5 separate regions of the Homo sapiens genome follow, and regions 1, 2, 3 and 4 are each linked to region 5. The links are contacts of gene promoters, found by promoter capture Hi-C in blood cells and fetal thymus (Javierre and others, 2016). All regions are on one chromosome and are shown on one strand. The core of a region is centred on a gene start or on the middle of the fragment in contact, and the rest is flanking DNA. Distances in the headings are between cores, read along the strand shown. Region 1 holds the start of FANCF (FA complementation group F). Region 2 overlaps ELP4 (elongator acetyltransferase complex subunit 4). Region 3 overlaps SVIP (small VCP interacting protein). Region 4 holds the start of DCDC1 (doublecortin domain containing 1). Region 5 holds the start of LIN7C (lin-7 cell polarity scaffold C).

Region 1 (5,325 bases), core at 2,745-5,244, 4.9 Mb before region 5:
ACAACAACAAGGAACGATCTTAGTAAATAAAAACTGAGTTTACCACCAAGAGACCTTCTCCAAGGGAATTTGAGGTACAATCATGGGAAACAAAATTGTTAAACCAAAACACTGGATAATAACTTGAGAGTTTATAGATAAGAGATCAGGGTTAAAGTTTCCTAAGGTCCATAGTATCATTAAGAAGGAGGGTTAAGATACTAATATTAGATATTTTTAAGTTAAATATGGTAAGTTTTGAGAGTAAAAGCATGGGTATAGAATTAACATCCTAACTGGTAGAGGGGAAAATATCATGAAATAAGAAGACAAACAAATATTTAGTCAATTAAAGAACTGAGAAGTGAAACATAGAGAAATCAAAGGAAGTGGAAAGCACAAAATAGGATAGCAGGAAAAAGTCCAATCATACAGTGTTAATATATGACAATGATAATAGAAAAAAATAGACTTTAAAGCAGAAAAGCAGTCACTACAAACAAAAGGTTCAATTCATTAAGATGATATAACGATTCTATATTTGTTTGCATGTCATAAAATTGCTCAAAATACATAAGATGATAATTGATAAAATTTCCTGAAACAATGTTACAATGGGAGATTTCAATAGTGCTCCCTCATTTGATAGGACATAGGGAAAAAACACAAAATAAATATCTCTAGATTTTATAAAGAAGTTATCAAATATTCTATTTTTATAGTCTTCCTCTCACTTTTTTCTCTCTCAGTGTATGCGTAGATTCCTAATCTTTTCAAGTCCTTAAGAGAAAGTATATAAAGCTCTAATGCTGGTTTCATTTATTCAAACACTACAAGTATCTACCATATGCTGGACACTGTGCTAGGCTTCTGGAAATAAAATAAATGACAGATACGGCTTCCACTTTCATGTTGCTTTTGTTTATACCCTTGGGCATTTTACTTAATCTTTTAGCGTATATTCATAAGAATACAGTTTTGGTGTGAAGATTAAATAAGATTATGTATGTAATGAACATATGGAGACTAAAATAACAGAATAATAAATGGTAAGTATAAAATAGATTTTAAAATGTTATTTCTTAAGTCTATTGTCAATCTTTACAATTTTATTGTAAATCATAGTGTGAGATACAGCTGCAAATATAGGGAAGTAAGTTCACAAACTGTTATTTTCTAAAGCTAAAGCTAACATTAGGCCTTGCTATGGTAGAACTCTTCACTGGGTTGTTTCTTAAAAAAAATTCACGCAACTGACAGGAGGAATTGTCTTTATTCTTGCATTAATGATAAATGTAATCTACAAGATGGCCTTCATGGATTAGAAAAAGGAATCAGACCACAAGGAAAAAGAAATTGCTGGTTTTCACTCAAGATTTATCTAGAAAAGTGTACTGACTACTGGAATAATAGTTTACCCCTGGGTTGTACCACAGAATGAGAAATTCTACAAGATTATACAACTCTTTTTCTACAAGATTACACTACTCATATTGTTTTTATTCCATTCCGGAATTAGAAATTAACTTTCTAAATATCATTTTTTTCTCCAAAAAAATCCTCTTACCAGCTAACCTGGATATGGACAAAAATATCTTGATTGCTGTAAAGGTCTATCTCCCTAGTAAAAATGAATAAATTGCCCTTGAATTTATTCAAGGCAATCACTATCAGCTGTGGAACACCCAGGTAAACTAACACAACTAGGTTCCTACACACAAAACAAATATTCTAAACTGTTTCCACAGGGCAGCCACCAAGGGAAAAATAAGGAAATTTAACTATTTTATTCTAAACACTTCATTTACATATAAGGCAACTGTGGCCCCAAGGTTGTGATTTATTAACCTAGTTAACGGCAGAAGCTGCACTAAAACCTGGATCTTCTACTTAAAATGTTGTTTTGGCCAGGCGCGGTGGCTCACGCCTGTAATCCCAGCACTTTGGGAGGCCAAGGCGGACGGATCACAAGGTCAGGTGTTTGAGACCAGCCTGGCCAGCATGGTGAAACCCCGTCTCTACTAAAAATACAAAAAATTAGCCGGGCATGGTGGCCTGCGCCTGTAATCCCAGCTACTTGGGAGGCTGAGTCAGAATTGCTTGATCCTGGGAGGCAGAGGTTGCACTGAGCAGTGATCACACCACTGCACTCCAGTCTGGGTGACAGAGCGAGACTCCATCTCAAAAAAAAAAAAGTTTGATTCTTTTATCATCAAGCATTAATTTAATATCCAAAGGCATATATTCGTATTTACTGTGCTTTAAACATTTGTCTGTGCGTCAATGCTTTAAAGGGACATACTATGTGGTGATTCATTTTCAAAGTAAGAATTTGCAGAAAATGAGAAACAAACTTTCTGAACAATACAATTTTAATGCATACTAAGGCTGGTTAACTGGTTAGAATACTAGGTTAACAAGGCCAAACTCCAGATAGGCCAACAGCTTTTCAAACCAATATTCCTGACACTGCCAGGAATAAAGAAAACTCTTCACTACTGAGGGAGGGACAGAAAACCTAGAAAAATAAACCATACTAAAAGAAAAAGGGTATTTTGTTTGTCACTTTAAAGCTGCTTTTTCTTTAAACGGTACACATATTTTCAACATTCTTACAAATGGGCCTTCTATTAAAAAGCAAACTATTGCTAATTCCATGGCTTTAAGTGGAGTACTTCCAATCACTTCCTCTATCCAGAAAATCCGTGACACTACATGCCAGCTACTTTGCATATTTATAACTGTTTAATAAACTATTCAAAATTAGCATCTAAAATAATTATACTTTGGACACACGAAGGCATATATTTGGTGAGAACATTGTAATTTTCATTTTGTAAACTATATATTCTATATTCAAGTAATAACACAGCATTGCCTATACAGAACTGAGGCCTGCGCTGAGACCCAAAACTTGTCTTTTCCTAAATGCACCACTACGAAGAGCTAATAAGAGGTCTGTCCAGATGCTAAGACCAGGTACTTCAAAATCTCCATCCTGCGCTTTACAGGTCTCCAGGGCAGTTAGAACTTTATCTTTCAGAGGTGGAGGGGCCTGACAGAGGCTTTGAAACCTATTGTGCAACTCCTCCCAGGGCACATCTTGGGACTCAGTTCCAACCCAAATGCCTTTCTGAAGGTCATAGTGCAAACGTTGACCCCAGTCTGTTAGCAGACCCAGATAGACAGGAGACAGCGCTGGGTGGCGGCTAGTCACTAAAGTCAAAAGCCCGGCTGGGAGGGCGCGACAAAAGGCAGCAAAGACTTCCGAATTCCCCAGAAGCCAGTGGACTAGCACTTGGCTCCCCTCTCCAGGTGATTTGTGGATGCCGGGTTCCAACTCTTCTTGGGGCCGACGAGACAAAGGCGGCTGCAACAGCGCCACCGCTATCACCTTCAGGAAGTTGTTCTGAGGCAAGCGCTCCCACAGGCTGCTGAGAAACCTGGCGGGACGCTCCGCTTCGGCCTTCCCCACCTCCTGCAGACGCTCCAGCAGCAGCTCCGCCTGGGTCTTCATCAGAGAGTCCTCCTGGAGATTTGGGTTCTCTCTATAGCCATTGAAGCGCAGCATGTGCACCGCAGACCGCCGGCGGGCAAGGCGGGCCAGGCTCTCTTGGAGTGTCTCCTCATCGGCGTCCCGGACGCCCGGGCCGGGAAAGAGTTGCTGCACCAGGTGGTAACGAGCTGCATCCCCGAGGGCCCGGTTCTCCAGCAGGCGCAGAGAGAGCAGGACGTCACAGTGACCGAGGGCCTGGAAGTTCGCTAATCCCGGAACTGGACCCCGCCCAAAGCCGCCCTCTTGCCTCCACTGGTTGTGCAGCCGCCGCTCCAGAGCCGTGCGAATGGGGCCATGCCGACCAAAGCGCCGATGGATGTGGCGCAGGTAGCGCGCCCACTGCAAGGCCCGGCGCACGGTGGCGGGGTCCCAGGTGCTGACGTAGGTAGTGCTTGAGACCGCCAGAAGCTCGGAAAAGCGATCCAGGTGCTGCAGAAGGGATTCCATGAGGTGCGCGAAGGCCCTACTTCCGCTTTCACCTTGGAGACGGCGACTCTCTGCGTACTGATTGGAACATCCGCGAAATGATACGCCTCTCTGCAATGCTATTGGTCGAAATGCATGTCAATCTCCCAGCGTCTTTATCCGTGTTCCTTGACTCTGGGCAACTTAAAAGCCCTAATACTTTTACTTTCGCCACACAAAGAGGTTCTTCTTAGTGGAGGGAGAGCAGATGTAGGGCATCCTACCGAGAATTTCCGGAACCACGTGCGAGATGATGCCAGTCATGAACGTCTCCGCGCTTCCTTTCGCTTTGGAAATATCCTTAAGTAGAAATTTTCTGAGCTTTGCCTAAAACTAGAATCTGTGTTGAGGTTTTTCAAAATTAAGTAACGCCAGAGACATACTGTGACGTGAGGAAACGCTCTTAAATGAAATTTTAAGATCTATTTGAGAAACATGTACTAAAAATGTACTGACCTCCTATTAATGCCAGGCGCTATGCTGAATTCTGGGCCTTCACATTGTCCTTCCATTATTAGAACTGAAGCCCAGATTATTTGAAACAAAAAATAAACTTCAATAATTTATTAAAATTTGCAAAGGAACAAAATTTTACTTCACAATTGTACATTTCGTTTTCGTAATTTTTAGGACAAAATAGCTTAATTGACTCTTCTGTCATACAAATAATCAGCTGAAGGAAATGGCATTTAAGAGCATCGAACAATAATAAATGTTTGATTAAATAAAAACCGTGACAAGAGAGTAGGGAGGAGAAGGTCCTATGTCGCTCACTGATGCACTTAACAAACATTTGTCAACTCCTAGGAGTTGCATTCTGTACAAAATGCACAACAATTCTTACTTAAGTTCATAATATAGTAATTCATTTGAGCTGAATTTCCTTCCAGTCCTAAAGACACAGCCAAAACTATTCGAAAAGTGGGGGAAGGTGTTTTGTTTTGTACTTTAACAAAAAGGGGAAGAGAAACAAATTTAAAAGAGGGGAAGAGTCATTTTTCATTTATTAAAATAAGCATTCCTACACCTTTTAGAAAGTAAAGCAGTGATGTGCATGCTGTTAATTCAGATTTATGCATTTATTTATTTATTTTGAAACGGAGTCTCATTCTGTCGCCCAGGCGCGGCCAATTTTTGTATTTTTAGTAGAGATGGGATTTCACCTTATTGGTCAGGCTGGTCTCGAACTTCTGACCTCAAGTGATCCTCCCGCCTCGGCCTCCCAAAGTGCTGGGATTAGAGGCGTGTGCCACCGCGCCCGGCTATTATTTGATTTTTATTAGTTATCTCAAACTCTTACTTGGTCCTGAAATCGTTATTTTATT
Region 2 (5,589 bases), core at 494-2,993, 4.0 Mb after region 5:
TTAAAGTACCCACCAAAAAGAGAACCCAAAGCACCTTCTATACGTGTTTCTTCAGAGATACAAACTTGAACAGTAATTTTTAAAGTTTCCGTATTTGCTTGGAATGGGAGACTCGAGTAGGGTATTTAAGTGTAACAAGCTTATGCTAAAAATTACTGTTCATTAAGATGGTAGAAACAGTATTGGTTGTTGAATACTTTGAAATATATTTTGCATGTATGCAGTGAATTCTCAAAGTGCACAAAAGTTGAAGAGGTTATAATAGAATTGACTACATCTTGAAAAATAAATATGTCCAGAAGTATTTTAGTTTTAACCTCTTAATGACATTTTTGTATCTGATTTTCTGTATAAGCAGTTTAGACTATGTTATTACTTGAAAATGTTATTTGACTCAAGTTGCGACAAGCCTAATATGACTATATTGTGACAAAAGGTAATGATAATAGGATGTTATGGTGTTAGAACGGTAAAACTATACTGTAATATTGTGATTATTGCCTGAATATATTATGTGGTTACTGTGTAACAAGTAAATATTATAGCTTCCGTGTAGTACGGTGACATTTTACTACTGCCACCGTGACGTCATTGTAATTTTAAACATGGATGCAAAATATATTTGAAAGGCATCATACATGCTAATTGTTAGTCATTTGATGATACACTGATAATTCCATTACTTATTCCAAAGCATTTCATGAATTTGAAAATTTTCAATATCTGCATTTTTCAAATGACCTAATATATAATGTTTTTGTTCTGACAACCTAATTGTATTATGAGATATTGATATACATTTCCCAAGTTAGCTACATTAAAATTGTTTAAATTCCCAGATTATCTAACCCATGTTCTCAACCTTGCCCTTCTGGGATATTTATATTGTTATTTGAGGACACTGTATGTAAATAACACTTATATTTTGGAAAAGGAAAGATAGATATTCCATCGATTGAAGAGGTACTCCATTTCTCTTCCAGGGGTTTCCAAAGAAAGATTATAGCAACTAAAGAATTCTGGCAGAAATGCCCCCTGCCCTCCGCCCCCCCTCCCCCGCCCCGCCCACCCAACCCCATTCCCTGTAAAAGGTATATACTCCATCATAGAACCATATATCTAACCTGGAAGAATTAACCACAACTTCATCCTCCAGAAAAATGCTTAAAGGAAGGGTAACTGCAGATTTGACCTCTGTGCTGTTAAATTTTGATAGTGAAGGGAATGTCAGATAGGGATTTGAGGTAAATAATAGTCTAGGAAGAGTACCCTGAAAGAAGCTTAATGGTAACAGCCATTTTTTAACATTGATGTCAAAAAGTAAACACTAGTGGGCTTATTTCCTTTATTATGTTAATGTGTAGCATGGGATAATATACATTGAGCTTGGACTACATATTTAACACAATCTTGGTTATGATATTTTACCAACCAATATAATTAGCTGTATATTTAAGAAAAATGTATTTTTTATTGCTATGTAAAATTATTTCATGTGACTTAATCTATAGAACTATTCACAGTTCCTAGCTTTATTTTGATTCTCATGTTTGTCCAGCTAATAATTGTGTCATAATGAAGAGTAGTCACTATGTTTTATAATGCTTGGGGAAGAAAAAGTAGAGTTGTTATCAAAATAACTGCAATTAAATTTGAGATCCAGCATTAATTAAGTAGTTAAGGCTATTACTATGAACCAAGGAAAGAATATGAACTTGTTTTTTACATTGCATTTTCCCAGAAATACTTTTTTGTAATTTTAAGCAAAATTATTCCTTTATATAGAGGTCTGGAAAGGACTGGCATAAATCACTGTTATCTTTCTTGACTTTCATTTCTTTTCCCTTTTACTTTCTCTAACATTGAAGAAAGGCTTTCATATTCTAGTGTATTAATTTGACCTCATTTACCCAAAATGTATAGCTTAGTCAGAGGTTTCTATTGGGGAGAGTATGGGGATTGAATGTTGTTCCTTTAAAATATTAATAGTACTAATGTAATTGTCTTACTACTGCATGAATTGAAATAACAACAAAAGCCCTTTCGTTGTCTTATGATTTTGAAAATCGTGGAAGATACTGGCATTTGCAAGATCTTAAATTTTCTAATATTATTTCTTAAGTATTAAATATCTTTTCTGGTTTTAAGAAAAAATGCCTATTTTTAAAATATGTGAAATCTTGATGAAATTAATTGTCTAAAATATCAAGCTTGCTGAGTATCTTTAACCTTTCAAACCTTTATTTTGATTCTCATGTTTGCCCAGCCAATAATTGTGTCATAATTATTGAAGAGTAGTCATGATTCTTTAACCTTTCAACCTCTTGTATTCTTTTGTGTACATAAAGTACTCTACTTTTATTTTTAGTAAGATGGAAATAAGTATACATCTTAAAGACATCTAGAAGTAAAAACAAGAGTTTATTTGCTGGCCAGGTGTGGTAGCTCACACTTATAATCCCAGCACTTTGGGAAGCCAAGATGGGTGGATTGCTTGAGCCTGGGAGTTTGAGACAAGCCTGGGCAACATAGAGAGACCCTGGCTCTTCAGAAAATACAAAAATCACCCAAGCTTGGTGGTGCACACCTGTAGTCCCAGCTACTCAGGAGGCTGATGGGGGAGAAGCCCTGAGCCTGGGGAGTTCAAGTCTGCAGTGAGCAGTGATCACACCACTATACTCCAGCCTGGGTGACAGTGAGACCCCATCTCAAAAAAAGAAGAATTTATTTTGCTTAGTGACTTAGAAAGTGTGTTGGTAATTTTTCTAAGTTAGGATGAAAGGGGAGAGGAAATAGTAAACAAGGCCGTTTTACTACTTTCTTGCCTGTTTTCATTATAAAAATAAGATGATTGTTTGCTTACCCTATTACTTATCTGTAATACATTGTATTGGGAAAAGATATTTCAGTTTTAATTGGTAACTATTAGTGTGAGGTCTATGTTGCTTTTGGAATTAGATAAAATTACTAATGGATTACTAAATTTAAAAGTAAATTAAAAGCCAGCCTTCAAAGAATATGTCAGGATACTCTGTTGTGATTGGTTGGTTGTTTTAGCTTTTTATTTATTTATTTTTTGGTTGGAGCATGGCTACAAACATTCAAACTTTTAAGTTAAAATACAGCTAGACCTTCCATTTATCAAGTAAGAGACATCAAAATACCTTATACAAAGGTATCTTGTGGAAATGTTTTGAGATCATGTCTCACTAAACTCAAGTTTAGAAGAATAGAGAAATTTTGCTGCTGTATGCATGTGTGTGTGTGTGTGTGTGTGTGTGTGTGTGTATATATATATATATATATATATGTATAGGTCCAAATTATTCCTCTTAAAACACATAGAGTAAAAGCTTGATTTTTAAAAGCTTTAGTTAATAAGTTTAAATTAGTTAATGAGTTACATCTTATTCCCCACAACTATCCTTCACAGTGACCAAACTTTACTACAGCCAATCTAAATGTGAATCTAGTGAATTTACATGATAGAACCTTCTTACCTTTTTGTAAAAGAAGTTTGAGAAGATATTTGGTGATAAAAATGATTTTAATATGTCCCCATTATGTCTTAATGTTCAAATTTTCTAAACATTAGAATTTTAATACACATAAGATTTTTTAGGTTATGTGGTCACTCATGCCTGTAATCTCAACACTTTGGGAGGCCAAGGCTGGAGGCTAGTTTGAGCCCAGGAGTTCAAAACCAGCCTGGGCAATATAGTGAGACCCCATCTCTACAAAGAATCAAAGAATTAAAAAAGAAAAAGAATTAGCCAGTCATGGTTACATGTTCCTATAATCCCAACTATTTCAGAGGCTGAGATGGGAGGACCCTTGAGCCTGGGAGGTTCGAGCTGCAGTGAACCATGATTGCACCACTGCACTCCAGTCTGAGCAACACAGCGACACCCTGTCCCCACCCCCCACAAAAAAAAGGAATTGCCAAAATGGTAAAGGTAGCTCTTTCTGAGTACCTTTCTGGGCCAGATACCTCTACTTGGTAATCACTTCATGTAATTGGAAAACTGTTATGTGATCTGTTCTCATTGTCCCATAGTGAATGTTAAAAAATCTTTACTTCTGGCTGGGCGCAGTGGCTCACGCCTGTAATCCCAGCACATTGGGAGGCCGAGGCGGGCGGATCACGAGGTCAGGAGATTGAGACCATCCTGGCTAACACGGTGAAACCCCGTCGCTACTAAAAATACAAAAAAATTTGCCGGGTGTAGTGGGAGGTGCCTGTAGTCCCAGTTACTTGGGAGGCAGAGGCAGGAGAATGGGGGGTGAAACCAGGAGGCGGAGCTTGCAGTGAGCTGAGATTGCACCACTGCACTCCAGCCTGGAGGACATAGCAAGACTCGGTCTCAAAAAATAAAAAATCTTTGCTTCTCTGTCTGTCCCAGTGGAGGCCTTATATAAATTCCTTATTTGAGGAGATGTAAGTGTAACTCAGGAGGTTAGATAAGAAACCTAAATCCTCCCTATAGGAAATAGGTTAAAGTAAGAAACTTTTTAATAGTGCCTGCTCTAGCTTAGACACCATAATGTCTCTTGTATGCTTATATCAATTCATCTCCTTATATGTACAGAAAAAGGCTATTGGGTAATTAAATGTTTATTTCTGCATTTAAGGGAAAGTAGGAAAGTAAGGAAGTGTGATATAAGATGTTCAAATGAATTATAACATTAGTGTGGCACTATGAAATTAAACATTTAGTCTAATCTTATCCCAAAGCAAACCCTTTGTTCTGATCCATTTGTTTGTTTGAGACTGGGTCTCACATTGTTACCCTGGCTGGAGTGCAGTGGTGCGAACGCTGCTCACTGCAGCCATAACTTCCCATGCTCAATTGATCCTCCTTCCACAGCTCCCCAAGTAGCTGGGACTACAGGTGGCAGCACGCCTTGCTAATTTTTGTATTTTTTGTAGAGATGGAGTTTTGCCATTTTGTCCAGGCTTGTCTCAAACTCTTGAGCTGAAGTGATCTGCTCACCTTGGCCTTCCAAAATGCTGGGATTATAGCCGTGAGCCACTGCACCCGGACCTGATCCTTTTTGATGGCTATCATGATGTACATTTCAGCTTATGTTTATCTTTTCATCTGAAGATAAAAGTTATCCTATGTAGTCTGTTGCGACTTTAAATGCTATATGAAGGAACCTGTCTGAATGTGAACTTAAAATATAAAGTCTTGTAAATATATAAACTTAAACATTAAAACATTTAAATATACTAGGTTTTTTCATTATTTCCTTCCCTAAGAGTTTGAAATGTTCTACATATTGTCATGAAATTGATGTTTAGCCTCACTGTAAATCGCTTAGCACAAGTCTCATGTTGCATATTATTCTAGGCGCATGTATGTTACCAGATTTCAAACTGTTTAACACATAATAGTTATGCTTTTTTGCAAGGCAAAAAATAAACACTATCAAAGGAACTTTTTTTTTTTTTGAGACAGAGTCTTGCTATGTGGCCCAGGTTGGAGTGCAGTGGCATGATCTCAACTCACTGCAACCTATGACTCCTGGGTTCAAGTGATTCTCCTGCCTCAGCTCCCCCGAATAGCTGGGATTACAGGAGCGGGC
Region 3 (5,093 bases), core at 2,072-4,571, 4.7 Mb before region 5:
TTTAGTAATAGGTCAGGGGTTTGAGCAACATTTTAAGCATTATAATTTTCTCCTAAATTATTTACTATGGGAAATTGGCTTCCACTTAAGGTTTTCATAGAAACTGATGGTTATTTTATGAGGGAGATGTCTGGACGTATGTGTGTATGTGCATGTGTGTGTGTGTATATACACACACATATATAAATTAGAATTTGCAGATATTATGTGTATATATATACACACATATATAATATATATATTATATATATATATAATTTTTTAGTCATGTTTTTAGTCATTTGCTTTTTTTTTTAGTCATTTACCGGTTTCTCATAAGACATCCAGTCACTTCTTTTCCCTTGCCCTTTCCTAACACTGTTCCTAACATTTGGGTACCACCCCTTAGCTCCTGCGACCCATGTGGTTTTGGAGAAAGCTGATCACACTCACGGTGACAGGCCATGGTTGGAAGTAACATGTTCCACTTTTCACGAAAAGTAATAGATCTGAATATCATTCATGGTTAACAATAGATAGTGTGACATTTGGGTATGACCTGCTGGTAGAAATAGGGCATGATTCCCTGGAAGTAAGTCACTTACACCAACCCAAGTTCTAATTCTTTAAGATGTAGTAAAGACAAAATTGTTCTTGCTATATTAAAATGGAAGAAAGGATTTGCAGAGTTCAAGGATGATATGCTCTAGCTCTATATGCACTCCGCTATCAATCATTCCTTTTACTTTCTGCCTTGAAAAAATCATTTTAATAAAATCAAAAATTTTCATTCTAAAATATAGTTCAATGATTTCACTACCCTTTATGAACAAAAACAGCACGAATCCTCTAAAGAAGAAAATTGAGCCAAATTGTTATGTTTTGCCTAGATATTCACACAATATTTCACACCATAATAGAAAAAATAATTTTTCCATGAGAAGTCAAGAGACCTGTATTATATAATAGTTCAAACTTTTAAAAATTAACATGTACAATACACTGCAGTATAACATAATTTTTGTTGGAGGGGTAGATGAAGATAGTGGCTCAGTTTCCTTTGTGTAAAGCAAGTGAACTTGGTCGATTTAACTTAAAATTTCTATTAGCACTTAATATCTGCAAATTTTAATTTAGGGCTCAACATGTGGCCTTGCCATTTAAAAGAGCTATCAGCCTTAATAGCTAACACAAATTCTTTTATTTCAGTGTATTATATAGGAGAAACAAAAAATGCTATAAAATTCATGTTTCTAATGAACAAAAATGTTAAGGTTTATGACTATGCATTGTATAGAATTACCTAATATTTTTATATCTGAAGTAGACCTTTTGTAAGTACAGTACCTACATGTTTTTTTCATACATTCATACTTGCCTTCGCAGTTTCACATCTGTATAAATCTTATGATCGTTCTCTAATAAGTACACAAGATTAACACTACTTATGAAATATGGACAAATATATTACTACTCATTATAACCCATCCAGATTATTAGTTTAACTCATTCAATTACTACAAAGATCCTTACAGAGCTGAATTTAATATACAATAGAACATCACTGCCCTCTGATGGTATCACTAATATATAATTTTAAATTCAGCAAACAAAAAATCCTTTATCATAAAGTAAAACAGGGTATGTTAATTTTATAAGCTACATAAATAAAAATAAATTGGAAAAAATTTTACATCTGCCTAAGAATACTCATTACTAAGTTATAAAAATTTACAGTGCTCCTTCACATCAGCCCTTCAAATGATTTTTTCAAGATTCTCCCTGATGATCAGTTTAAAGGCACTAAGTCCATAAGTTTAATCAAACATCTTCATAGTGAAATAAAAACAGATGTAACGCGATGCAGCACAAATATAAGTAGTTAGATCATTTTATAAAGGATGAAAAGACAACTGCGAATTTTAATCTTAGAGGTATATGCAGAATGTTTACATGCAGTGTATGTATATTCACTATTTAGTTCCATTTTTTAACTACTAAGAAAAATAGCAAATCACCCACTAACTGCAGAAGAGCAAATGTAGGAAAATCAGTATTTAATGAAAAGTCTAGCCATTCTCTAAGCTTGAAAATCAACGTTTTTTTAGCATTGCACTTAAGGGCAATAATATTACAAAGTCTGAATCTTCATTTACTCAAAGAGAAGAAATTAAATTGATGAAGCCCACTTGATTGCAGATAATAAACAGTTATTGGCAGTAGATTCTTCTACTCATGTTATGCTTTATGAAACTGTCCACTAGAAAAGATAAAAAAGAGACAGAAAAGTAAATTTTACTTGAAGTTATATAACAGTACTTCAGTGAACAAACAGGTAAAAAGAGGAATATGGGACATAGAAATACAAAATGATTTTTCTGAATAGCAGCTATTCATAAAATTTTACATTATAGTCCAAAGCCTGAAATAAGATGATAGTTTAAAAGCATAAAGAAGACAAAATATCTGGTCAGATTGGTGGGTAGTTGCAGGATAGCTCTGTCTCACTGTCTTGCCTGTAGTTTTCAAGAGTAACTGTAGAATGTGCTGGGAATGTAACATCCTGGGATAGCAAATGAATGGCCAAGGACAGCTCAAGTTCTGTTCCAGTCCCTCCCTAAAGACAGGACGTCCTTCAATGCTTTAGCCCAAGGAGTCATGTAGTACCTCCCCTTCTAACCCCCAGGTCATAAAACCCAGGGCACTCATCTGAGGTTCAAGTGGGGCACACACAGATGTCATCAACCCCAGGCAGTTTTCCTTGGGAGACAAGCTTATAATGAATCCTAGGCTTCTGTTGTCCCTTGTTGCCAATCTGTAAGTAATAAACTCACTCCACGTTAAATGTTTTTGGTTTTGTTTTGGGATTTTCTTGAGACAGGGTCTCACTCTATCGCCCAGGCTGGGGTGAGGTGGGAATGGCTCACTGCAGCCTTAACCTCGCAGGCTCAAGTCATTCTCCCACCTCAGCCTCCCGAAAAGCTAGGACCACAGGCACATGCCACCACACCTAATTTATTTTTTATTTTTGTAGAGACAGGGTCTCGCTATGTTGCCCAGGCTGGTCTCTTAACTCCTGACCTCAAGTGATCATCCCATCTTCTCAGCCTCCCAAAGCCTTCCTCTCACAGCTGAGATTACACGTGTGAGTGACTGTGCTCAGCCTCTTCATGCAAATGTTACATGCATGAGTATTCTGTCCACTGGACTCTGAAGTTGGTAACCACTGCACAGTGAACCTGCTATTCAGTAGCAAGAGCCTAAATATCCAATAATCAGTAAAGGAACACAAAATAAAACACAACAAAACAAAAATTTAAAAATTCTTGTTTGAGCCAGGGAGTCAAGAAATGGCAGAAACCATTAAAAAATGGTTTGGCAAGGTCTTTTCCTTCTTGAGTTAAGAAAATATTCCATTTGCCCCTTTGTTTAATGAAGTCTATTAAATCTGTGATAGGTCCTGAAGAGCCATTAGGATAGAACCAGAGATATTTGGCAATCTCTTGATAGTGTTTTCCAAGTACATCCAAGGAATATTATTGGGTGTTTTATATATATATATACACACACACATATATATATATATACACATATATATACGTATATATATATGTATATATATACGTATATATATACACACATATATATATAAAATCTATGTTTAAATAAATTTTCAACATTAAAGATTAATCCAAGTAAACTTGCTTTTCTTCATTGTACAATTTCTTAGAGGCCATAATTCTGTGCCTTTTTTAGTCTCTAAGAAGGGGATATAGTCTACAATATACAATTTAGCATTTTTAAACATTTATTCCCATGGGACTCTATCTTCCAAAACATCTCTCTTAGGACAAGTGTTATAAACGCTAGGATAGTGATTCTCAATCTGGGTTCACATTAGATTACCTTGGGAAGCTTAAAACAGTCCTGATGGCTAAACCCTACTCTCAGAGACTGACTGGTGTGAGGTGGAGCCCAATGAACAATCCTTTTTGAAAGCTGCCTATGAAACTCCAACATGCAGCTAAGGTGGAAAGCCATTGTACTAGAGGTCTACCCTTACTCCCGTGCTGCTATATCCTGTACTGATAGTACTTTGCATCCTGATGCCATCATCACATTGACTTCTTCAGGTAAGAAGTCAGAAGACAGCATTACCCATGCTAATTACCCTGGAAAGATGCAGCACTGGTCAGGAGATGAATAGGTGAAAGGCATGAAGACAGGGAATGCAAACTAGACTCATACTCTAGGTAGAGTCAGGTCAGAAAGACTCTACCTAGGGAAGAGTCTTCCTAACCTTCCTACCTTAGGAAGACTCTACCAATACTTCAGGCCAGCCCATGAAACAAGCCAGACAGCAGCCATTAAAGGACCATAGGCCAAGCGTTTTGAGGGTTAAGTACTTCTGCCTTGTATTTTTCCCTTCTGTTATCCCTGAGCCTTCCAGAATTTTTTCACTTCATGCTCTTGACATGTTGTGCATGTGTCAAGCAGAATGGAGCATGCCACTTGAAGCTAGTGTGGTAGTGGTAGGTGATGAGGAATATTCCAAGGAAAAATTACTCACAGTGGACAACAGCAGTGGCTAATGACAGTGAGCCACTGGAGAAAATCCTCCTGCCACTATATAGTTTCAAGGTCCTGAAGGTCATTTTTACTAAGTGAGTTTGAGAGATTTCTTACAAGAACAGTACACAAAGAAAAACAGAAACTAAATTTAACTTTGGGTATGTTTTACATTTTGAGCACTTTTGAATGGATTGTAAGTAATATAAGGCCTAAATTTTTTTTTTAATCTATAGACTTCAGAGTGTGGAAGCTTCAAGTTTAAGAAAGCCTCTTTCTTTATTATACTTTAAAAGCTGATGTTAATTTCATTAGGTTAGAACTTGTGAAGTGTCTTCTTAATTATGATTAAGTGTTGATTAAATTATCCTTTTCCTATAACATTACGTATGACTTTAACTTAATACCTTCACCACTTCTACTGTGAAATAGTGGATCTCATTATTTCCAGTCCTACAATTTAACTTTTGTAATTTTGTGTTTGTTTTTGACAACCCTATATGAAGTAAACCTAGTGAAACAGCACTTTATCTCAACAGAATATT
Region 4 (4,975 bases), core at 1,602-4,101, 3.9 Mb after region 5:
ATCAAATTAAGAATTTGTGAATGTCTGGTAGACGTTAGTTTACGGGCAGGCGTGTACCAAAGTGATAGATTTAATAACAATGTCATTTTTTCCTATCATCATGACAAAGGATCTTAAACTCCTGATGTATCTAGCTACATCTATAGCACTTGATCAATCATCTGGGAATCAAATATTTAATATACGCCTACCTTGGTTATGTTAGATGCTGATGACGCAAACTAAAGTTTTGCCTATCCTTTTAATTTATTCTGAAGTCCAACCAAATGTACAGTTCAACAAATATTTGGGTTTGATTTTATTTTTCCAATTCAATTGTTTCTTGCTGTCATTTGCTCTCTTTGGAAATTCCTAAAATACTGTTATGAATGTCCAACATTCTAATATATCAAATGTGCAACAAATATTATTAATTAATAATAACAACAATAGCTAACCTTTACTGAATACTTATTACTTTCAGGCACAACTATCTCATTTAATTCCCACAACAAATCTATGAGGGAAATACTATTATTACTCCCATATTACAGAGGAAGAAACCAAAGCAAAGAGATGAATTAAGTTCACATAGCCGTAAGAGGAAAAGCCTGGACTAAACACATATGTTCTGACTCTAGAGTTCATGCTTTTAACCATGATACTAACATAGTTTATATTTCCACTATGTAAGTTTCACATAAAATGGATAAATTGCCTTTTAAATATAAGATACTGAGAAACAAAACTATTAGAGCTATGTATCATTAGAACTCCAGAGAATGAGGCAAGATAGCTGGTTCTTAGTTTCTCTGGAGAGGTGTTCTTGCTCTCAGAAAGCTTGCAACCCAACTGGGGAATCAGAATATATTCTAAGGAAAACAATATACTGTGATATACAAAGGACTTGCTATGAAAGTTGAGGGGCGGCAGTAAGTTCTAAGGACCAGGCCATCATAAAAGGCTTGATGGAAGAGATAGGCCTTAAAGCAGGGATTACTCTGATAGGAGGAAGAAAAGAATTAGGGTGTTATAAGTAAGGAGAAGCATTTGAACACAATTATTGATGAAATGCTGTTACCAAAACACCAGGAGTTCCATCTATGTCTTGCTGCTTACCACCCAAAAAGTCAATCACTGAGACAATGATTATTGTCAAAGAAGAAGGCTTTAATCAGATGCTGCAGCCAAGGAGATGGGACATCAGTGTCAAATTCACCTTCCTCACTGACTAAAATTAGGGGTTTATATAACAGGGAAGAAATGTTAACTACGTATGAGAAAACAGGAACTAAGGAAGGGTAAGGAAACAATAACGAAGAATGAGGGGTCTGGCATATCACTGTCTAGATGCAGTAATCTGGTGAGTTTCAGCTCTTTGATACTTGTTGAGAGGTCTGGGCATCCTTTCTTGAGGAAGGAACTGAGATAAAGATCAACAAAATGTGGCTGGGCGCAGTGGCGCATGCCTGTAATCTCAGCACTTTGGGAGGCTGAGGCAGGCAGATTGCTTGAGCTCAAGAGTTCCAGACCAGCCTGGCCAACATGGTGAAACTCCATCTCTACAAAAAAAAATACAAACATTAGCCAGGCATAGTGGCATGCACCTGTGGTCCCAACTACTTGGGAATCTGAGGTGGGCAGATGACTTGAGCCTGGGAGGTAGAGGCTGCAGTGAGCTGAGATCATGCCACTGCACTCCAGACTGGACACCAGGGCAAGACTCTGTCTCAAACAAGCAAACAAAAAGATAAAACAAATGCAAGTTTCAAGCTTTCAGAAAAGAAGTGTCCATTTCTATGTTTATTAATTTAAAAAACCCCAATAAACAAAACTAAACAAACAAACAAAACCCTGTCTATGGGACTGTTGGGTTGATTTCAGTACCATGAAAAGATCCAATTGTTTAAATGTTTAATGTATGGAGATAATAGGGGAGGTTGGAAAAGTAAGGATCATATTGAAGAGGTAACTTGAATGCTAGGTTAAGGAGTTAGGACTTTATTCTCTAGACCTGCCCTGCTGGATACAGTAGCCACTAGTCACATGTGGCTACTGAGCATTTGAAATGTGCTAGTTCAAATTGAGGTGTGTTCGGGCACAATACATACCAGCTTTTGAAGACTTAGTAGGAGAAAAGAATGTAAAGTATCGCCTTAATAATTTTTAGATTAATTAATTTTGTAGCTTGCACTTACGGCTTACATTATATTTCTATTGGAAAGTACTGCTCTATAAAATGAAAAATGAAGGAAGCTTAATGATCAGAAATTTATGTAAAAATTGTTTTAAGAAGTTTATTTTGGTATAAGCAGAGTGTAAGACAACTGTTCTCATTCAGTAAGCCAATGGCAAGTAAAGAAAAAAACAAGGTTCTAGTGAAGAAATGGGACTGCTATAATTTAAAAGATATTTAAGAGACAGAACAGCTAAATGGAAAGTGTACATTTTGTCTGATTCTGAGTCAAGCAAACCAACCAGAAAAAGACATTTTCAATTAACCGTGGAAATGTAAGTAAGGTCTAGATATTATGTGACAGTCCAATAATGACATTATGGAGATAAAAGAAAAAGTTGGTACATTTTAGGGATGCAAACTAAAGTATGTAGAGATGAAATGACAAAATATTTGGTATTGCTGGGGAAAAAAACTATTTCTTACTTTCCAAACCCCAATAAATAAATAAGGTAACACAATAACCTAATAAATAGTAAATCAAAATAAAATGCTTTTGCTGTAAAAAACAAAAAACCTGGAGTACCGGAGCATATCTACCTACACAAGGAAGAACCAAGCTGTGGACAGAAGGGAGTTTGAGGGCTAGAGATGTTCAAGGTGGCATCATTCTGACAGTACTGTTTAGAAAAGCATTCACCACACTACTTAATTCCATTGCTTTAGGTATTTTCATGAGGCCACACAAGAAAGTATGATGCAGCCAGGACTAAAACCAGATGCTCTTTGTATCTGCCTTTAAACATGACAAAACCCTGTGGAGAACCTAATCTATGCTTTCATCTTTAGATTTTTAAACTTGCTTGTTTCATTCAGTTATTCTTTATAGTTCATAACATCATTAAATAACTGATCATATTAGATTATTTTATTTATTCTGCTTAAGTTTATCTTGACTGCTTCTCAAACTCAGATTGGTAGAAGTTTAAAAAAGAAGGAAAGCAAAATCAAAGCAGTAACAACAAAACCATTTTAACATCTCCAAGTGAAATTTATGTCATGCTGGCCAAAAATAAGATGTAGTTTTCATCTCCAGGTACAATGCTAGGAAGAGGTGTTAATGTAAAGTAAGCAGCACAAAGAAGTAATAAAAGGAAACACAGGAATCAAGAAAGGGAGAAGAAAGAAAGGTGAGAAAAACACCACCACCACCACCACCACCACCACCAGCAACAATAACAAACCCCAACAGTGCCCATATGCAGTGCCCCCTAACTGCTTCGAAGAAGAACAGTTCATTCTGCTTTTTTCTGTAAGCTTGAAAGATAGCATAGCTGCCCTGGGAATGTGTAGACTTGCTGAGTCCTTGTTCTGCCCCTACCCAACTAGCTGTTTGGCCTTGATCCTTGATTTCTTTCCTCATCTATAAAGTGGGAATAATGGCACCTGCCTTACTTGTCTCACTGGGTTGAAATGAAAGCGAAGTGAAATAGCAAATGTGAAAGAATTTTGGAACGTTTTTATGTTGTAAGTTGGTTGCTAAGGTCTAAAAGAAATATTAATAATTACGTCGAATATCTTCTGCAGAAAAAATTAAACCGACCCCATCCCCCGCACATCTAGCCCTACCTGGCATAGGTTTTAGTTCTTTTAATTTTCGAATTAGAACATTGTAAAGGAACTGTAGGGACGAGAGTGGCATCAGGTCTCCTCATCCTTCTCACATCCTTGCCCCCGCACCCCTCTCTCACCCCAGAGTTCAAGCACCAACCGAAAAGATTGAGAGTAGCTCAGGGTACGGTAAACGGAGGAAGCTTTGAAAAAGGCGGGGAAAGCCTGGGATGGCGAGGGGGTGCTCGCTGAGGAGGAGGAGAGAAGCGACAGTCGCGGGGCCCGGAAAAGAGAGACTTAGAGCGAAGCCAAAGGCGCCTTTCTTCACAGTTTGGGAACTTACTGGTAGTAAACGCCACTCCATAGAAGCGGTGACCGGTTACCATAGAGACCGCGTCGGGGTGGGCGGAGCGTCGCTTCTGAGCTGTGCCACGGCCACATCAGCTCGGCCAGAAACGCGAACACGTCGGAACAGTGACTTCCGGCGGAAGAAGAAGCCGGTCCGGAGTTCTGGCCGACAGCAGGCGAGGAGTGGGTAGCAGCGCCTATGTGAAGTTAGGTAGGTCTGATGTCGTATAAAGCGCGGAGAGGGTGCCCGCCAATGGCTGGGTGGGTAAAGCCGACTGTGAATGGAGAAGATTCCCAAGTCCCGAGCTTGAGGAGGCCCCGGCTGTTTCGTTAAGTGTATATAGCTGTGGGAAGAGGTTGCCTGATTTCTGGGGCTCCTGGTAGGGTCTCTCTTCTGGAGCGTGGAAGACTGGGGCATCCTCGCGTAGAGAGTTTCACTCTGTCTTTGCGAGGTCTCAGCGCCTCTCCAATAACAGGGGACTCTTGTTCTCTACCAGCTGGTGCTGACGTTATTTCCCATATCATGCTCTCCAGACAATCTGGAGGAAAAGCAAACGAGAAACTTTCAGAAGGAATGCCCCCAAATTTATTTTAATTCTTTGATGTTCTGTTTTGCTTTTTTTTTATTCGTTCATTTTGTAAATATTCATTAAGCTCCTCCAGCGTGTTTAGTGGGTGCTTACTTGTGTGCCAGTTTTATCATAAGACTAGCAGAAATACCTTCTTAGAGGTTCATACACCACCTGGTTCATTATAAAATTCTTTTTTTTAATGCTGTTCATTAATTAAAGTATAAATATATATCGTGAAATACCTAACACGTTTTCCATACTTGTCGGTACACTTATACCTGGAATTCTT
Region 5 (5,100 bases), core at 1,821-4,320:
AGACAGGGTTTCACCCTGTTGGTCAGGCTGGCCTCAAACTCCTGACTTCATGATCCACCCACCTCAGCTTCCCAAGGTGCTGGGATTACAGGCTTGGGCCATCACACCTGGCAGAAAGATTATTTATTTATTTATTTGAGATGGAGTCTCCCTCTGTTGCTGAGGCTGGGGTGCAGTGGTACGATCTTGGCTCACTGCAACCTCTGCCTCCAGGGTTCAAGTGATTCTCGTGCCTCAGTCTCCCGAGTAGCTGGGACTACAGGTACCTGCCACCAGGCCCAGCTAATTTTTGTATTTTTAGTAGAGACAGGGTTTCACCATGTTGGCCAGGCTAGTCTCAAACTCCTGACCTCAAGTGATCTGCTTGCCTCGGCCTCCCAAAGTGCTGGGATTACAGGCGTGAGCCACTGCGCCTGGCCAGAAAGCAGATTTTTAAATTTGAGGTAAAGAAAGCTTAAACTTAAAAAGTTAATCAAATGCAATGGAAGCAAATAGACCTTCACCATTCTGATTTCCCATCACCAGAATGACCGATACATGGGGACTGTTGGTTCATCAATTATTTTGATTTATAAAGTTATAATATATAAGCCATATAAAAATTTCCAGTGAAGAAAAAAATGGAAAAAAGTAAAATGCTTTTGACTAAATCTAAAATGTACCTACTATGTGCTCAAATTTGTGTTTCATTAAATCATAGTTTGATGATTTAGAAGGCACTCTAAATCATCATATGTGATCAGGCACTGTATTGTAATTGTACTGTAGGATTTTCTACTTTAGGATCGTTGGGAGTGTTTGTTAATAGAGTCTGTTAGAATTCTAAACAAGAATCAGAGGTGATGTAATCTGACTTTCTTACCCTGCTAAATGGCAACCACTAGTACAGCTGTCTTGGTAACAGTGGGGGATTCATTAGGACCTTCTTCAGATACCACAGATATCAAGATCTGCAGATGCTCAAGTCTCTGATATAAAATGATATAGTATTGGCATAAAACCTATGCATATCCCCCCTCTATACTTTAAATAATCTCTAGATTACTTACAATATCTGACGCTACGTAAACAGTTGTTATATCACATTGTTTAGGGAATAAGGACAAGAAAAAAATGTCTGTACATGTTCTATACAGACACGATTTTTTTCTGAGTATTTTCAATCTGCAGTTGGTTGAAATATGGAACCCATGGATATGGAGGGCTGACTGTAATTCATCCTACTAAGAGGTGGAGTCTTCTACTGAAGAACAGAAAAGAAATCTGTAACAGCAAAAAACAAAGCCAAGACTATCAAAACTAAATGCCACAGAAGTTCCACATTTTGTGTTGCATTTAAAAATACAAAGACCGGCCGGGTGCAGTGGCTCACGCCTGTAATCCTAGCACTTTGGGAAGCCGAGGCGGGCGGACTTCCTAAGCTCAAGAGTTCGAGACCAGCCTGGGCAACACGGTGAAACCCCGTCTCTACTAAAATACAAAAAACAGCCGGGTTTGGCGGCGTTCGCCTGCAGTCCCAGCTACTCGGGAGGCTGAGGCAGGAGAATTGCTTGAACCCGGGAGGCAGAGGTTGCAGTGAGCCGAGATCGCGCCACTGCACTCCAGCCTGGGCGACAGAGCAAGACTACGTCTCCAAACAGCAACAACAAAAACACAAAAGACCAATACGTTAGAATCTTAACTAGCTTTCAAAGAAAAAACTTACTCCTGTTAACACCAAACAGATTTGCTCCCATCTATAAAACACAGTGCCACTGTGCTCAAGAGGAAGATGTCAGAGACTTAGGCCTAACTCGGCAAGTCTTCCCAGAGTAGCTAGTCCTCTAAAATGATGCTTTAATAGGCTTAACGGAAACAATCTCATTTACAGTGAGGCTTCCAAATGGTGAACACGGTAAAGAGCAAATCAGCAACATTAAGTGCACATTTGTTTGTGGGAAGGCATTAGGAAAGAGGTTTTTCTAAGTACAGTAATTCTAAAAATGTGTTTTCTTAGGGAACAATAGTAATATTTAGACTAATTGCAAATGTTAATATGTGCAATATAATTTCAGTCTCCATCCTACATATACATTTTTTTTTACCACCAGTACTCAAAATGTTTATTTGTACTTCTCAATTCCTATCAATGATTTCTAATGCTGGTGTATGAAAAGCATGCTTGAAATTGTTTGAAATAAAGGACTTAGGGACAGAGTGGAATGCTGGAAATCTGTAAAAGGACTGGAAACGCTGGAATGCTGGAAATCATGGTAGGCGCATAGCCAGTTATTTTCGTAGGCTTCTCTATCTCTAATTACTCAGCAGAGGTGGTTTTATTTTCCTTGACAGTCTGCTCTAGGAAGCAATCAGCCAACCAGTTTGCAATTGTAGGGTTTGTAAGAAATGAAAAACACTGCACCTGCAAGTGTTTTAGCATCTACCACTATTCGGCTTACTTACGTAACCTCCTTCCCAAGACCAAGTCAGTAGGATTGTTTTTAAAGCAACCTCTCCATTTCTAGGAGGGGCACAAAAGCTAGCAAATACCCCAACCCGAATACAAGCGAGGTTGTGGAGAAAGTAATGAAGGAGTTTGTGTGCAAACAGCGGGGAAAGGAGGTTCTGTTGAATTGTACCGTGTGTCCGTTCTCGTGCTGTACAGGCAATGAGTGTAGTCTGTGCGAACCGGGTGTGTGACGTTTGCTTTTCGGGTGTACGGGTCTCCGAATGCTGCTTCTGCTGTGCTCACCAAGGGAGCGCGTGTGCGGCGTGTGTCTGCGAAGCGGGCAGGTTGTGTTTAGTTGTGCTGTGCCTTGGAACAGTCCGTGTGAACAGAGGAGGGCTTACGGTTAACAGACAAAATACCGTAAGCGCCCTTCCTAGAGCCAGGCACAGAGACAACGGCGGCCTCTGGCGCCGGCACAAGGGACAGCGTGGCCCGGATCTCAGAGCCTGGGTCACTCCTCCTCCCCTCCAGCGACACAGCACTCCCCCAACCCTTCCGCCCACCTCCGCCGAGCCTCGGCTGCACTCACCTCTCTCCAGCCGCACGGGTTCCCCTAGCGCCGCCATCTTCTCCCTTAACCTACAGACCCACAGGAAATGACGACAGAAGGGCTGAGGTGGGGGGGCGGGGCCTAGGGGAAGCCGGAAAAGTGAGTACCGGCTAGTATCGCGAGATCAGGAAGGTGGCCGAGTGTGTCGCCGCGGCCATCAGGGTAAGGGTACCTGGACTTGCGGCTTTTTAGGTCGGCCTGGCTCCGCTCCTTCCGCGGTGACGAGGTCCCCCGGCCTCCTAGGGTTGGGAAGAGCTGCTTTCCTGACTCTCGTTCCCTGCCTCAGGCTTCCCTTATCCCAATCGCTTCGAACCCTTGGCTCAGCGTAGAGGAGTCAAGCCTGGATTCTAGTCCCACCTTGCCCATTAGCAGCTCTGTGACCTGGGACTGTTCACTTACCCTCTCTCAGCCTCAGTTTCCGCATCTGTACAACGAGAGGTCCTATCTCTTAGGTCCTTACAATTTTTAAACTCTGGGATTCGGTGGCAATTAAATGTGTAATGACATGTTGTCAGTTCTCAATTTGTGACAGCATTGCTTTAAATTTAAAAATCCACGGCTTGAATCTTCCCTCCAAATCTGTTAAGGGGTGGAAAGTACAAAGAGCATGAAACATATCTGGGTGAGGGAGAGAACAAGGTGCTTTGGTGCACCACAAAGTAACAATTTTATAAGCAGCTGATTCTTATAAAATCTTAAGTAAATGAAATATTGTGAAGCAAATAATATTCTTAATGCATTACAGATTTTTGAGCCACTTCTGAAATTTTCGCGAACCAAGAAGAATTTTAGTACTTGGATTTGACTAACATTTATCCAAGCCCTTAGTCTGTACTGATACTGTGGTAGGTGTGTTTACATCCAGCATTTCAACACTTCATGATGGGACTGTTTTAATAACCTGTTTGCCCCTGGTCCACCCTTTCCATTCACCTTTAGTATTTTCTTCTCCAAATCCATCATGGATGCCACCACTATGCTCCTTTTTCTCCCCTTGAATTCTGATTTCATCATCACAAGTTCTGTTCAGAAACTTTCAATGGTTTCTCTCCTGTTTCCTATTTCTAAAGCCTTGCATACTCTGACCCTAACTCATCCAACTAACTTCATTTCTCATTACCACTAAGTGCAACCACCACTTCAGTCCAGATAGTATAGTTTCAACCATATTTATTCCTGATTCCAAGTCTTTTTGTTTGTTTTAGAGACAGAGTTTCTCTCTGTTGTCCAGACTGGAGTGCAGTGGTGCAATCACAGCTCAAGAGAGCCTCCTGTCTCAGTCTTGCCAGTAGCGAGGACTACAGGCAAGCACCACCATGCCTGGCAAATTTTTAAATTTTTAGTAGAGATGGGGGTCTTGCTATGTTGCCCAGGCTGGTCTCAAACTCCTGAGCTCAAGCAGTCCTCCTGCTTTGGCCTCCCGAAGTGCTGGGATTACAGGCGTGGGCCACTGTGCCAGGCTCCAAATCTTCATTTGTGTTGTTCTTGTGTGGAATGCCCTTCTTCATCCCTTCCTAGTCTCCAAACTTTGTACACACTCAGTTGAACCCATTTCGTGGGTCCCTGCTGAAGGCATGCCACTTCTACCAAGCCTTTTCTCCATATTATTCCCCTTTTTTGTCCTCTGATGGCCTAAATACGTTGCAGTAACACTCAGGTGCTTATCTCTTACTCGTTGTCATTTTTTTTTGCTGCAAATGTGTTCAAGAAATGTTTATTAAACACCTAATATATACCAGGTGCCTTGATAGGAATACCAGGTAGAGCAAGACAAATGCAAACATTGCCCTTATTTCTTCAAATATTTTTTCTTTCCATTCTCTTGCTCCTCTCCTTTGGTGTGACTATTGGAGTCATGTGCATGTACATAATATACATGTATATTGAACTAACTGGCATTGTCTCACAGCTCAGTGACGCTCTGTTCATTTTTTTTTCAAGATTTTCTTTATGTTTCCTTTTGGATAATTGCTATGTTTTCATATTCATTAATCTTTTTTCAATATCTAATATTGAAATCCTGTCCAGTTCATTCTTCATATAAAACATTGTAGTTGTTGCC

Evidence for each region. The method cuts DNA at HindIII sites, captures the fragments that hold promoters and counts their contacts. A CHiCAGO score of 5 or more calls a contact.
Region 1: the fragment with the promoter of FANCF here is called in contact with the fragment with the promoter of LIN7C in region 5 in 1 of 17 cell types (non-activated CD4 T cells); the score reaches 7.3 in non-activated CD4 T cells.
Region 2: a contact is called between a fragment that was not itself captured here and the fragment with the promoter of LIN7C in region 5, in 2 of 17 cell types (total B cells and naive CD4 T cells). The highest score is 6.2, in total B cells.
Region 3: a contact is called between a fragment that was not itself captured here and the fragment with the promoter of LIN7C in region 5, in 4 of 17 cell types (naive CD8 T cells, non-activated CD4 T cells, total CD8 T cells and 1 more). The highest score is 13.6, in naive CD8 T cells.
Region 4: a contact is called between a fragment that was not itself captured here and the fragment with the promoter of LIN7C in region 5, in 1 of 17 cell types (activated CD4 T cells). The highest score is 5.6, in activated CD4 T cells.

Annotation. Positions count from the first base shown.
Region 1 is chr11:22,621,829-22,627,153 of GRCh38, forward strand. FANCF (FA complementation group F) reads right to left here and starts at 3,995. Exons shown (of 1, transcript NM_022725.4): 1 at 705-3,995. The coding sequence starts at 3,982. The coding sequence ends at 2,858. It also overlaps a transcript of GAS2 not described here. RefSeq lists enhancers at 2,885-3,044, 3,055-3,104, 3,485-3,694, 3,559-4,458, 3,785-3,974. The HindIII fragment of the contact is 15,033 bases long and covers 1-5,325 here.
Region 2 is chr11:31,511,747-31,517,335 of GRCh38, forward strand. All of the region lies in intron 1 of ELP4 (elongator acetyltransferase complex subunit 4), which reads left to right. Among named protein-coding and RNA genes, the nearest start is that of ELP4, 4.8 kb to the left of the region's middle. The HindIII fragment of the contact is 930 bases long and covers 1,279-2,208 here.
Region 3 is chr11:22,820,895-22,825,987 of GRCh38, forward strand. It overlaps SVIP (small VCP interacting protein), which reads right to left. Exons shown (of 4, transcript NM_148893.3): 4 at 1-2,239. The coding sequence ends at 2,225. Among named protein-coding and RNA genes, the nearest start is that of LINC02718, 6.0 kb to the right of the region's middle. The HindIII fragment of the contact is 1,142 bases long and covers 2,751-3,892 here.
Region 4 is chr11:31,365,588-31,370,562 of GRCh38, forward strand. DCDC1 (doublecortin domain containing 1) reads right to left here and starts at 4,152. Exons shown (of 39, transcript NM_001387274.1): 1 at 4,110-4,152. DNAJC24 (DnaJ heat shock protein family (Hsp40) member C24) reads left to right here and starts at 4,273. Exons shown (of 5, transcript NM_181706.5): 1 at 4,273-4,325. RefSeq lists an enhancer at 4,086-4,565. The HindIII fragment of the contact is 1,237 bases long and covers 2,234-3,470 here.
Region 5 is chr11:27,503,699-27,508,798 of GRCh38, forward strand. It overlaps LIN7C (lin-7 cell polarity scaffold C), which reads right to left and starts at 3,071. Exons shown (of 5, transcript NM_018362.4): 1 at 3,018-3,071. The coding sequence starts at 3,054. It overlaps BDNF-AS (BDNF antisense RNA), which reads left to right and starts at 3,154. Exons shown (of 7, transcript NR_033315.1): 1 at 3,154-3,200. RefSeq lists enhancers at 2,632-3,831, 2,988-3,117, 3,188-3,477. The HindIII fragment of the contact is 9,378 bases long and covers 452-5,100 here.